5 separate regions of the Homo sapiens genome follow, and all the other regions are linked to region 1. Evidence: promoter capture Hi-C in human tissues and cell types (Jung and others, 2019). All regions are on one chromosome and are shown on one strand. The core of a region is centred on a gene start or on the middle of the fragment in contact, and the rest is flanking DNA. Distances in the headings are between cores, read along the strand shown.

What was found. Contacts are between HindIII fragments. The study calls those that stand out against the background at their distance.
Region 2: a contact is called between a fragment that was not itself captured here and the fragment with the promoter of UBR7 in region 1, in 1 of the 25 tissues and cell types used here (dorsolateral prefrontal cortex).
Region 3: a fragment that was not itself captured here is called in contact with the fragment with the promoter of UBR7 in region 1 in 2 of the 25 tissues and cell types used here (dorsolateral prefrontal cortex and lymphoblastoid cells).
Region 4: a fragment that was not itself captured here is called in contact with the fragment with the promoter of UBR7 in region 1 in 2 of the 25 tissues and cell types used here (hippocampus and mesendoderm cells).
Region 5: a contact is called between a fragment that was not itself captured here and the fragment with the promoter of UBR7 in region 1, in 2 of the 25 tissues and cell types used here (H1 embryonic stem cells and hippocampus).

Annotation. Positions count from the first base shown.
Region 1 is chr14:93,205,982-93,208,558 of GRCh38, reverse strand. It overlaps UBR7 (ubiquitin protein ligase E3 component n-recognin 7), which reads right to left and starts at 1,303. Exons shown (of 11, transcript NM_175748.4): 1 at 1,118-1,303. The coding sequence starts at 1,267. GON7 (GON7 subunit of KEOPS complex) reads left to right here and starts at 1,494. Exons shown (of 2, transcript NM_032490.5): 1 at 1,494-1,729. The coding sequence starts at 1,522. RefSeq lists an enhancer at 1,398-2,257. The HindIII fragment of the contact is 21,573 bases long and covers 1-2,577 here.
Region 2 is chr14:93,631,743-93,634,319 of GRCh38, reverse strand. All of the region lies in intron 33 of UNC79 (unc-79 subunit of NALCN channel complex), which reads right to left. Among named protein-coding and RNA genes, the nearest start is that of PRIMA1, 160 kb to the left of the region's middle. The HindIII fragment of the contact is 6,956 bases long and covers 1-2,577 here.
Region 3 is chr14:93,558,939-93,561,515 of GRCh38, reverse strand. The region is part of intron 14 of UNC79 (unc-79 subunit of NALCN channel complex); the gene reads right to left. Among named protein-coding and RNA genes, the nearest start is that of UNC79, 130 kb to the right of the region's middle. RefSeq lists an enhancer at 1,581-2,083. The HindIII fragment of the contact is 3,598 bases long and covers 1-2,577 here.
Region 4 is chr14:93,517,882-93,520,458 of GRCh38, reverse strand. The region is part of intron 7 of UNC79 (unc-79 subunit of NALCN channel complex); the gene reads right to left. Among named protein-coding and RNA genes, the nearest start is that of UNC79, 88 kb to the right of the region's middle. The HindIII fragment of the contact is 4,844 bases long and covers 1-2,577 here.
Region 5 is chr14:93,492,437-93,495,013 of GRCh38, reverse strand. The region is part of intron 5 of UNC79 (unc-79 subunit of NALCN channel complex); the gene reads right to left. Among named protein-coding and RNA genes, the nearest start is that of UNC79, 63 kb to the right of the region's middle. The HindIII fragment of the contact is 4,592 bases long and covers 1-2,577 here.

The DNA.
Region 1 (2,577 bases), core at 54-2,553:
CAAAGAAAATATTAAGGAATCCATTTTATAAAGGTAACTACACTTCAAAAATAGTTTACATATAGACATAACTTTTTTCTTTTTTTTTTTTTTAAGTAAAGCAGGGGAAAAATTGTTTTAGTGGTGACCAAAGGTTTTAAAATACCTGGGGCTATGTCTGGATACCAGGTTTATTCAACAATCTAGCACTTTGCAGTGTAAACTAACCTTGGTCAACAACGAGAACTGGTATTATGATCTCAGTTCATACCACATAATGAATACAAGTCTCTCCCCTCATCTCCCCAGTGTTCCAATCCACCCCTCTTCCTAGGTAACCCTTCTTCCTACCAATTCTCATCCTTTGTCAGTCTTCTTCCTACCCATCCTTTTCCATTTTTGTACCTCGAAGTGTAGGGTGAGTCACTAAACACCACATCACACCCCCTCAAACACTTGCTCACTCACAACGTCTTCCAAATGCCAAACAGATCCTTTTCTCCTCTCTCCCCTCCCTTGCCAGAGCCACTTGCTGTTCTGTTTCCGGTCTATTTCCAGGGGAGGGGGGCAGACTGCAGATAGACATGGGTACTTGCTTCATTTTGCCAAAAAAAGAAAGAAAGAAAAAGTACTAGCTAGCACTTGTCCAACTAAATTGCAGAGGAACTAGCTGTCAAGGAGCTCACCGCAAATCCCTATGGATTTGAAAATCTCTTTAACCTGACTCTCCCATTCGGTCCCTAATAAATAAATAAATAAATAATCTTAGGATGGGAAAATCAGGGACAAAGATGTCTGGATCTGAGAGGTCGCGGGGTGGTTTCGTGAAAAGCAGTGGTGCACCAAGAAGAGGCTGGAGAGGACGGACAGAGCAGCTGCTCCAGGGCCCTTCCTGGCGGGCCGGACAGAGTTGGAGACAGGGGAGAGGGGGGCCCCTGCTGGACACAGGCTGAAGGGGGCCCAGGAGGTTGGGGTTAAAAGGGAAGGGTGAGCTTGGGGTGAGGAAGCGGCAGACTAACGGCGGCCCCGGACCACCACTGGGGAGACGACTGCGGCAAGGCGGGAATAGGGACAGCCGGGCCGGGAAGGGGAGGTTCGGCGGGAGCCGGGGGAGAGGAGGCCCGGGCCGCGCGCCCACCTGAGAGTAGGAGCACTTCTCGGAGTCGCTGCCGCCCAGGACAGCGCACGCCTCATTCTCCAGCTCCTCGTCCTCCTCAAGGACGTCGACCAACGATACCACGGGCTCCAGCTCCGACTGCCGCCCAGCGGCGCCCTCGGCTCCGGCCATCCTCAACTGTCAGCCGAACAGCGGCTCGGCCCCGGCGGAGGCGGGAAAAGCGGCCGTGAGGGGCGTAGCCGGAGGAGGTGGGGCCCGAGTGCCAGGAACCAATGACAAGGAAAAAAAGCGAAGGAAGGGGGAGGAGCGACTTCCGACAAACGGATGTCACTCCTCTCCCTTCTCCCGCCTGCGCCGGACGCGGGCTGATTTCCGCCTCCGGGTGGCGCTTCCCGGTGTCGTGTTCTGGAAGCTTAGCGGTCACCATGGAGCTGCTGGGAGAGTACGTCGGGCAGGAAGGGAAGCCGCAGAAGCTGCGGGTGTCCTGTGAGGCGCCGGGTGACGGCGACCCTTTCCAGGGCCTGTTGTCTGGCGTGGCCCAGATGAAGGACATGGTAACGGAATTATTCGACCCTCTGGTACAGGGGGAAGTGCAGCACCGGGTGGCGGCGGCTCCAGACGAGGACTTGGACGGTGAGCTCTGAGACGGTGCTGCAGTGACCGGAGGACGGGGCGGGCGCCCAGGGGAAATTGGCTTGGGGAGCCCGTGTAGAGTGGCAGACTTGGACAAAGTGAGCCTCGAGGAAAGAAGAATTGCATCTAAAAATTTTTGGCGGGCTAGGCGAAGTGGGGCTCACGCCTGTAATCCCAGCACTTTGGGAGGGCGAGGCAGGAGGATCACTTGAGGTCAGGAGTTCCAGAACAGCCAGGGCAACATATCGAGACCCCGTTTCTATTATTATTTTTAAAATAATTTAAAAAATAAAAATTGTTGGCATTTATCACTATATTTATTTGGGCTGCTTCTACTCAAGCGTTTCCACAACTCATCGCTATTTCGTTTATTTCACAAAAAAACGTGTCGAATGCCTACTATTATGTGCCAAACCCTGAGCTGAGCCCTGGAGGAAGAATGAGGTGAATGCGACTCAGTTCCTGCCCTTGTGAAACACAAGGGGACTAGACAGGCAGACACTCTTATTAAAAGTGGAAGTGGTCCGGGCTGGTGGCTCACGCCTGTAATCCCTGCACTTTGGGAGACCGAGGCAGGCAGATCACGAGGTCAGGAGTTCGAGACAAGCCTGGCCAATATGGTGAAACCCTGTCTCTACTAAAAATACAAAAATTAGCTGGGCGTGGTGGCATGCTCCTGTAGTCCCAGCTACTCTACTCGGGAGGCTGAGGCAGAAGAATCGCTTGAACCCTGGAGGCAGAGGGTGCAGTGAGCCGAGATCGCGCCACTGCACTCTATCGTGGGCGACAGAGCGAGACTCCGTCTCAAAAAAAAAGAAAAAAAAAGTGAAAGTGGTTCTGTGGTCCTC
Region 2 (2,577 bases), core at 49-2,548, 430 kb before region 1:
GCCCATTAGCACTGATTTGTCGCCTGTAAATATTTATCCCAGTTATAACTGAATGAAATATGATTATCTTCATCTACTTTTAAAATTATATACTCTGCCATGTTTCAAAAATGATTTAAGACAAATAACAAATTTAAATGTATGGCTTAACTTTCTTTAACAGAGCTTGTGCATACATTATTTCCATCTTCCTCATAGCCCCATGAGGTCCTTGTGTATGTGTGCGTGTGTACATGATGTGTGTGTGTGCGTGTATATTTTAGGGTAGGATGACACATATCAACCCCAATTTTTAGAGAGAGAAATTGAAGCAAATGAAATTATATGACTTGGAACCAGTCAGCAACTGAGGTGGTCCTAAAACCAAAACATATCAACTCCAAAGTCAATGCTGTTTTCAATCTCTGTGCGAGCCTCTGCCTACTGTTTGAAAAATGTGAATCAAACAACATTCCACGAGTATATTCTAGTACACATCTTTGTTTTTAAAAAGTGGTAACATTTTTATCCTGTAAGTTAAGCATTGAAACATATCCCATCAGTGAAATGTCAAGTTATTAGCATTTCCAAACCAGAAAACAATGAAAAACACTTTTGCCAGTAGATTGCTGAGTTGGAAAGCAGTCTCCTCTGGTCCTATTCCCAGCAGTCCCACCAATCCCTACCAACCAGCCCAGTGAGAGAGGCAGAGCATCATGGATGCAACTTTTCTGCATGACCCCAAATACCTTGTATATTTGACAACTTGTGGTTATTCTCTGTGTTATAAGAAAAACTTCAGAAACTGAAGCTATCAACTACACGCCCTAGAAAGGGATGGTAGAGACCGGGATGACCGCATGGCCCCTGGAAACTCTTCAATGTTATACACACATTTCACAATCATGGCACCAAGGTGGCAACTTGGTGTGATGTGAAATCAATTATAACATTATTTTTAATGTAACTAGCATGCTGTTTGATTAATGGTGGTCACAACACGTTTAGCTACGAAATAACCAGCTGATAAACTGATCAAAAGGGAAGGATGTGATGGGAATTCTTGTGTCTTAAAGTCAATATTAACCTAACTCATGGAAATGACTACTCAACCTAATACTAAACATCTCTGGTTTTTGCCACTAATTGGTAAAACTTACAATGTTATGACTCACTTGAAAAGCACATCTTTAAGTAAAATTCAAAAGCAGAATTCTTTTTGAAGATGCAACAAATTTAAAACTTAGCAGCATCTAGAAGACTCAATCAAATGAAAATTTTAAACCTCTGATGATTGAATAATTTCTTCAATTCTCAGGTGTTTTCAAAGACAGCAGAATTCCCTGAGAATAAAACCCTTAATGTTTAGCTCAGTGTATAAGGTACCAGGCATGATACCTCCAAGAACACACCACCAAGAGCTATAGAATGCATGCTTTTAATGGCAAGGAGGAGAAAGGTGGAAATCTAATTAAGTGCTAAGCTAAATCCAAAGTCTAGATCAATCATGACTTTGGGATCATGAAACATTTGTAATTTGTAAATTCATTTTATGGTATATTTAACTATCATTTGAGTCCTACTGAGCTAATAATCCTATTTCAAATTATACTCTAATTCACTATCTTTTTATTTCTTCATTTTTTTTTTTTTGAGACAGGGTGCACAGGCTGGAGTGGAGTGGCACAATCACAGCTCACTGCAGCCGCCATCTCCCATGCTTGAGCGATCCTCCCACTTTGCCCTCCCCAGTAGCTGGGACTATGGTGCGCGCCACCACGCCTGGCTAATTTTTAATTTTTTTATAGAGACTGGGGCCTCACTATGTTACCCAGGCTGGTCTCGAATTCCTGGGCTCAAGTGATCCTCCTGCCTCAGCTTCCCAAGTGCTGGGATTACAGGCGTGAGCCACCACACCCAGCCCACTATCTTTTATTAAAGATAACTCGTACAAATTAGGAGAAGATACACTTTTATGATTTTAGTATGTGGTCATAAAATTGGCATTTTATCATGTGATCTAACAGATTTTTGTAATAAAAGAAGAATAATTAGATTCAGAACTAGCCATTCTTCTTTGCTACCAAAAGGGCAAATAACTGTCATTTGGAAACTATTTCTTAGAATTTCCATAATCCTTATTACAACTGAATTTGAATTATTTAAAGGAAGTGTGGTATACTAAAAATGAACATGGCTTTGTAAGTCTAAAGGGCCTAGCATCAATTCCTGAATCTATCACTTAGTAGATATTTGACTTTAGGCAAGTCATTTAGCTTCTCTGGATCTCAATTACCTAATCTATAATATGGGGCCAACAACATCTATCACGCATGTGTTGATGTAACAATTGGATCAGATAACAATGTGTGTGAGCCACTTGGCACAGTGCCTGGCACATGATAGATGTTAAATAGATAGTAGCTATAATTACTATTATGACTGCAAACTCCTGGAGAACAAGCGGTGTTTTATTTATTCACTTTTGACCTCCAGTGCCAAGCACAGTGTCTGGCATCCAGCAGACACTTAGTAAATAGTTGCTGAATGAATGAATGCATGAATGAATGAACAATGAAGATGATGATGTTCCAAACT
Region 3 (2,577 bases), core at 29-2,528, 350 kb before region 1:
ACACAGCTGCCCCCGTCTTATATACAGGCTGGGAAACATCTCCTGTCTCCCTACACCTCCAAACTTCCTTTAATAGCCCTCACCTTTACCCTCCTGAAGAACTTCTTTACTTTCTAGACAGGTCCAGCAAGACCTCCCCAGACATTTCACATCAGCAAGCTGCTGCCCTCCTCCACACTTACTTTAAAAACCTTTCTCCTTATATCAACTCTACTCCCCCCATATTTGGACCCCTCACAACAAAAACTACTTTTCCTGTGGCTGCTCCTTTATGTATCTCTCAGCAAAGACCCACTGGAATTCCCCTTCTTGATGTTCCTTCACTCTTCATCTCCAAAGCCCAACTACATACATCACTGAAACAATTGGAGCCTTACAGCTCCATATTACAGATAAGCCTTCTATCAATACTGGCAAACTTAAAAACATTAGCAGTAATTATTGCTTAGGAAGACACCCTGTATTTCCCTCCATCCTTGGCTACCTTCCCCTTGCTCTTCAGACTCTCCTCCCAGGCCCTCTTCTTGTTTACTTATACCCAGCCCCATAAATAACAGTGAAAGGTTGCTCGTGGGCACTCAACGTTTTCTCATACACCATGAAAATCGAGCCTCTCCCTCTATGCAGTTACCCCATCAGTCCCCATTACAACCTCTGACGGCTGCCGCCCTAGCTGGATCCCTAGGAGTCTGGGTACAAGACACCCCTTTCAGCATTCCTTCTCATCTTTTTACTTTGCATTTCCAGTTTTGCCTGGCACAAGCTCTCTTCTTCCTCTGTGGATCCTCTACCTACATGTGGCTACCTGCTAATTGGACAGGCACATGCACACTAGTTTTCCTTACTCCCAAAATTCAATTTGCGAATGGGACCGAAGAGCTCCCTGTTCCCCTCATGACACTGAGATGACAAAAAAGAGTTATTCCACTAATATCCTTGCTTGTCAGTTTACGACTTTCTGCCTCCACTATTGCTCTCGATACTAGAATGGCAGGCATTTCAACCTCTATCACGACCTTCCGTAGCCTCTCTAATGACTTCTCTGCTAGCATCACAGAGATATCACAAACTTTATCAGTCCTTCAGGCCCAAGTTGACTCTTTAAGCTGCAGTTGTCCTCCAAAACTGCCGAGGCCTTGACTTACTCACTGCTGAAAAAGGAGGACTCTGTATATTTTTAAATGAAGATTGTTGTTTTTACCTAAATCGATCTGGCCTGGTACATGACAACATAAAAAAACTCAAGGATAGAGCCCCAAAACTCACCAACCAAGCAAGTAATTACGCTGAACCCCCTTGGGCACTCTCTAATTGGATGTCCTGGGTCCTCCCAATTCTTAGTCCTTTAATACCTATTTTTTTCTTTCTTTTATTCAAACCTTGTACCTTCCGTTTAGTTTCTCAATTAATCCAAAACCGTATCCAGGCCATCACCAATCATTCTATACGACAAATGCTCCTTCTAACAATCCCACAATATCACCCCTTACCACAAAATCCTCCTTCAACTTGACCTCTCCTACTCTAGGTTCCCAAGCCGCCCCTAATCCCGCTTGAAGCACCCCTGAGAAACATCGCCCATTATCTCTCCATGCCACCCCCCAAAAAATTTTCCCTGTCCCAACACTTCAACACTATTTTATGTTATTTTTCTTATTAATATAAGAAAACAGGAATGTCAGGCCTCTGAGCCCAAGCTAAGCCATCGTATCCCCTGTGACCTGCACAGATATGTCCAGATGGCCCGAAGAAAGTGAAGAATCACAAAAGAAGTGAAAATGGTCGGTTCCTGCCTTAACTGATGACATTCCACCACAAAAGAAGTGAAAATGGCCAGTCCCTGCCTTAACTGATGACATTACCTTGTGAAATTCCTTCTCCTGGCTCATCCTGGCTCAAAAGCTCCCCCATTGAGCACCTTGTGACCCCCACCCCTGCCAGCCAGAGAACAACCCCTTTGACTGTAATTTTCCACTACCTACCCAAATCCTATAAAATGGCCCCACCCCTATCTCCCTTTGCTGACTCTCTTTTTGGACTCAGCCCACCTGCACCCAGGTGATTAAAAAGCTTTAGTGCTCACACAAAGCCTGTTTGGTGGTCTTTTCACACAGACGTGCATGAAAATTTCCTCCACTAGCTTAGTAGTCAGAAAAGATTAAAAACCTAACTTAGTAGTATGTGCCAATAACTGAGTCTTGGCCGTTGAAGCGGCCATACCTCAACCACTCATATAGACTGCTAAGTGTTCAAACTGTGTTCAGATAAGGCAAGCGCCAACCTGTAACCAATCCAGCTGTTTCTGCACCTCACTGCCAATTTCTGTAGGTCACTTCCCTGTTTTTGTTTATAAATCTTTATACTCCAGCACAGCACACATAGCTGTTGTGCTGGAGTCTCTGTGAATCAGCTGTGATTCTGGGGGCTGCCCAATTCACAAATTGTTCATTGCTCATTAAGCTCTTTTAAATTTAATTCAGCTGAAGTTTTTCTTTTATCAGTGCTGTCTTTGAGAGGAGAGAATTGGCAGCACATGGGTCCAGAGTCTGTATCACTCACATCCTGATCCATTTTTCC
Region 4 (2,577 bases), core at 45-2,544, 310 kb before region 1:
TTTCAAGTCTGATGAAAACAACCCCCAAATCCAAGAAGCTCAATGAATCCTAGGCAAGATAAAAGCAAAGAAAATAACACCAAAATTCATTATAAACAAATTGATGAAAACCAATAAGAAGAAAATCTTAAAAATAGCCAGGAGGGAAAAAAAGACACATTACTTACAGGGGAACAAAGATAAGAATGATCGCTGATTTCTCGTCAGAAACAATGCAAGCCAGAAGACAATGGAACGACATCTTTAATAGGCTGAAAGAAAAAAACTGTCAACCTAGAATTCTATACCCAGTGAAATTATCCTTCAAAAATGAGTATGAAATAAAGACTATTTGAAGACAAACACAAAATAAGAGAATTCATTTCCAGCTGAGCTCCACTACAAGAAATGTTAAAGGAAGTTTTTCGGGCTAAAGGAAAATGATACCAGATAGTAGCTCAAATTTACACAAAGGCATAAAGAGTGTTGGACATGGTAAGTATGCTGAATAACTACAGAAGGCTTTTTTACTCATATTAATATGTTGTTAAAAGATGGTTGATTATTTAAAACAAAAAATAATTATAATGAATAGAGGCTAATAATATATATAGAAGTAAGATGTTTGGTAACAATAACAAAAAGGATAGGAGGGGTAAAATTAAAATACAAAAAGGCCTTACATTATATGTAAACTGATATAATTTGAGGTAGACTGTGAAGTTAAAAGTGCATATTATAAACCCAAGAGCAATTTTTTAAAGATGGTGTAGCTAACAGTACAATACAGAAATAAAATATAACACTAAAAATAATTAATTCAAAAAAGGCAAGATATCAAAAAGAAAAAAAAGGAACAGATGGGACAAATATAAAACAAGTGTAACATGATAGGCTTCAGTCATACAAGTGTATCATGATAGGCTTCAATTCATACCAGAAATTACATTAAATGCCAATGGTCTAAACAATAATTTTACTAATGTAAATGGTCTAAAAGGCAAAGATTGTGAAATAGGATTTGAGTTTTTTAAAACCCATGACCCAATTGTATGCTGCCTGTGAAAAACATAGCTAAATTATAAAGGCTCAGATAAGCTAGAAGTAAACAGAAAAAGTTATACTATGCAATTATGGCATAATTGTTATACCATAATTGAAATTATAAGAAAGCTTGAGTGTCTATATTAATATCAGAGAAATAGATTTCAGAACAAAGAATATTACCAGAAAAACCAAGGCAATTTTACAATGATGAAAGGGTCAATTAACCTAGAAAACATAAAAACCATAAATATTTGTACCCTTAGTAAGGTGAGAGAATTGAAAGAAGCATAACTGAAGTTGTAAATTTCCATAATCCTCTCTCAGTAACTGATAAAACAAGCAGACAGAAAATCAGCAAATATATAAGACTTGAAAACACTCTCAAACAACTTAACCTATTTTATAATGTTAGAAATCTCCACTCAACCACTGTGGAATACACATTGTTTTAAAGTACACGTGCAACATTTAACAAGATAGGTATTCCAGTCCATAAAATAAGTCTCAAAAATTTAGATGGAGCTACATCATACAGCATATTCTCTAGCCACAATAGAATTAAACTAGAAACCAATAACACAAAAGTATCTGAAAAATTACCAAATATTTACACATTAAAAAGCACACTTCTAAACAATTCATGAATGAAAGAAGAAACTTTAGAAAATATCCTGCACTGAAATACAATAAAAGCATAACATATATAATGAATTTCTGGGAAGCAACTAAAGCAATGATTAAATGGAAATTTATAGCTAAAAATTATTATATGAGAAAATATTAAAGATCTGAAATAAAAAGTTTATGCATCTCCCTTAAGAAGACAGAAAAAGAACAGAACTCAGTAGGTGGAAGAAAACAATAAAGAAACAGAAATCAATGAAATTGAAATCAGAAAATCCATAGATAAAATCAATAAAATCAAAAACTGGTTCTTTGAAAAGTCCCAAAAACTTGATAGGCCCCAGCATCCTGATGGACAAAAAAAAAATTGAAAATTCATGAATTACCAATATCAGGAATGAAAGGTAGAACATCACTACAGATCCTACAGACATGCTAATAAATTTGAAAACTTGGATGAGATGCTCACATTCCTTAAAAGACACAAATAACTCACTATAACTCAATAAAAGTAAAAAAAACCCATAACTATTAAAATTACATTCACAACATAAAACATTTCCCTCAAAGAAACCCCAAGTCCATATGGCTTCACCAGTAAATTCTATTAATCATTGAAAGAATAAATAATACAAATCTTACATAAACTCTTTCAGAAATTAGAAGAGAAAAAAACATTTTCCAACTCATTTTATGAGGTCAGTATTACTCTGTAAATGGAACCAGATGAAGACATCATAATTAAATAAAACAAAACAATATCTCTCATAAATGTAGGAACCTGAACACTTAACTTAGAAAATTAAATCTAGCAATATAATACAGCATGACAAGATGAGTTCATCCCAAGAATGCAAGATTGCATTTCACACACACACACACACACACAGACACACACACACACACACTCACATATACATATGGACC
Region 5 (2,577 bases), core at 23-2,522, 290 kb before region 1:
GAAAGAGGTACACCAGGAGACTTTTCTCTTAATGACTCTGCTTGATCCTATTACCTGTTTTGTAGTTATACGAGGTTATAATAACCTCCACAGTGGCAGCTTTCTTGCAAACATGAGGGGAATTCCAAGATCTCAGCCCCCTGATATTGTGGAGCTATCTTCAGGACTTCCTATTAAGTAAACAACCAATGTGTTTATACTTTAAAGCCTCTGTCAGCCAAAGACATCTTAACAGATGCAACCTCTCTGTCTCTTTGGAGAGCTCATCCTCTTCCACTGGGCCATTATCTGTTGAAGTTTCTGAAGGCCTAATCACAGAACCACTCCACATTTCTTTCATTCTCTGCTCTCCCCTAAGCAATCTCACACTCACACACAACTTCAGCAGCCATCTATATGCAATTCAGTGAAGGTCACTGGACACTTGTGTGTGGGCTCAAAGTTCATTATCTCTAGTCCAAAGCTCTGTTCTGAGCTCCAGACCCATAATACAACTACCTAATTACCAGCTCCTATTAGGTGTCTCAAAGATACTGTGAACACAACACGTCTGAAACAGATCTCAAGATCTTCCCTCAGAGGCCTGATCTTCTTCTTCCAATGCCTCCAGTATCAGTGAGTAGAACCACTGTTACAGTTTGCATCTGTGTCCCCACCAAATCTCATGTTCAGTTGTAATCCCCAGTGTTGGAGGTGGGGCCTGGCAGAAGGTGATTGGATCATGGGGGTGGGTCCTTCATGAATGGTTTAGCACCATCCCTTTGGTGCTGTTCTCATGATAGAGTTCTCACAAGATCTGGTTGTTTAAAAGTGTGTGGCACCATGCCTGTAATCCCAGCACTGTGGGAGGCCGAGGCGGGTGGATCAAAACTCCTGAGGTCAGGAGTTCAAGACCAGCCTGGCCAACATGGTGAAACCCCATCTCTACTACAAATACAAAAAATTAGCTGGGTGTGGTGGTGGGTGCCTGTAATCCCAGCTACTTGGGAGGCTGAGGCAGGAGAATTGCTTGAACCTGGGAGGCGGAAGTTGCAGTGAGCTGAGATTGTGCCACTGCACTCCAGCCTGGGCAACAAGAGCAAAACTCTATCTCAAAAAAAAAAAAAAAAAAATATATATATATATATATATATATATATGTGGCACTTCCCCTTCTCTCTCTTCCTCCTGCTCCAGCCATGTAAGACGTGCTTCCCCTTTGCCTTCTACCATGATTATGAGTTTTCTGAGGCCTCCCTTAGAGACAGGAGCCACTATGCTTCCTGTACAGCCTACAGAACCATGACTCAATGACACTTCTTTTCTTTATAAATTACCCAGTCTCAGGTATTTCTTTATAGCAGTGCAACAACAAACTAATATGACCACCATGCATCCAGTTAGTGCATCCAGAAACCCACTCTAGCCAATATGTTACCAAGTCCTATCAATTTTACTTCCTAAATAGCTTTCAGAAAGATCTGCTTATTCTTCAGTTTCAATTGTCCCTGCCTTTGAAGTGCTTACGCAAATGCAATGACCTCCTTCCAGGTCAATCTATATCCAACCTGGCTTCTTCTCAATCCGTTCTCAACTGCAGCAGGGGTGACAGACACCACAGCCCACTCAAAGCCGTTCAGCAGCTTCCCATCAGATTTGGAATAAACGCAGGCCTCCCTAACATAGCTCACAACACCCTGCATGTTCCAGCCCATGGAACTCTTAAGTCTAGTGTCACACCAGGGAGCCCTCACTCTGAGTTCCAGCTACACTGATCCTTCAGTCTCAGCTGTTTGCCAGACTCCCCCGTGACACATGAGATTCCTCTTCCTGAACCGCCCCCCCTTGTAGGCCTTGTTCACATTATTCATCCTGCAGTTCTCAAACCAAAGGTTACTTCCTCAAAGAAGCCCTCCTGACTTCCTCAATAAAAGCAAAATTTCCTTTTATAACATCTTATAGTATAACATACTTGAAGCACTTGTCACAAGCAAAATTTTACACTTGATTTTATGATTATTTGATTGTCTTCTCGCCTCTCAACCCGACCATACGATAAGCTTCCTGAGATGAGGATGGGGTCAGTCCCATGTCACTAACCATGGAGCCCCCAGTGCCCAGTACATGGTGGATACTCAGTGACTACTGATTGAATGGTTGCTCTAGAATTGGAAATTTGGTCTTAAGCCATCACTGAATTCTCAAGTGCAGATGTTCCAAGACACTTTCTTGTACATAGTGTCTGCTGATCTCCACAGGTCTGCTATATGAACGTTGTTCAGAGCCATCACTGACCCATGAACATACCTGGACAGTTCCTTTGTTAAAACAGCTTCCCCTCCCAGAATGCCCCATTTACCTTATCAATAAAAACTCTGTCCAGCCAGGCATGGTGGCTCATGCCTGTAATCCCAGCACTTTGGGAGGCCAAGACAGGCGGATCACTTGAGGTCAGGAGTTCGAGGCCAGTCTGGCAAACATGATGAAATCCCATCTCTACTAAAAATACAAAAATTAGCCGGGCATGGTGGCATGTGCCTGTAGTCCCACATACTGGGGAGGCTGAGGCAGGAGAATTGCTTGAACCCAGGAGGCAGA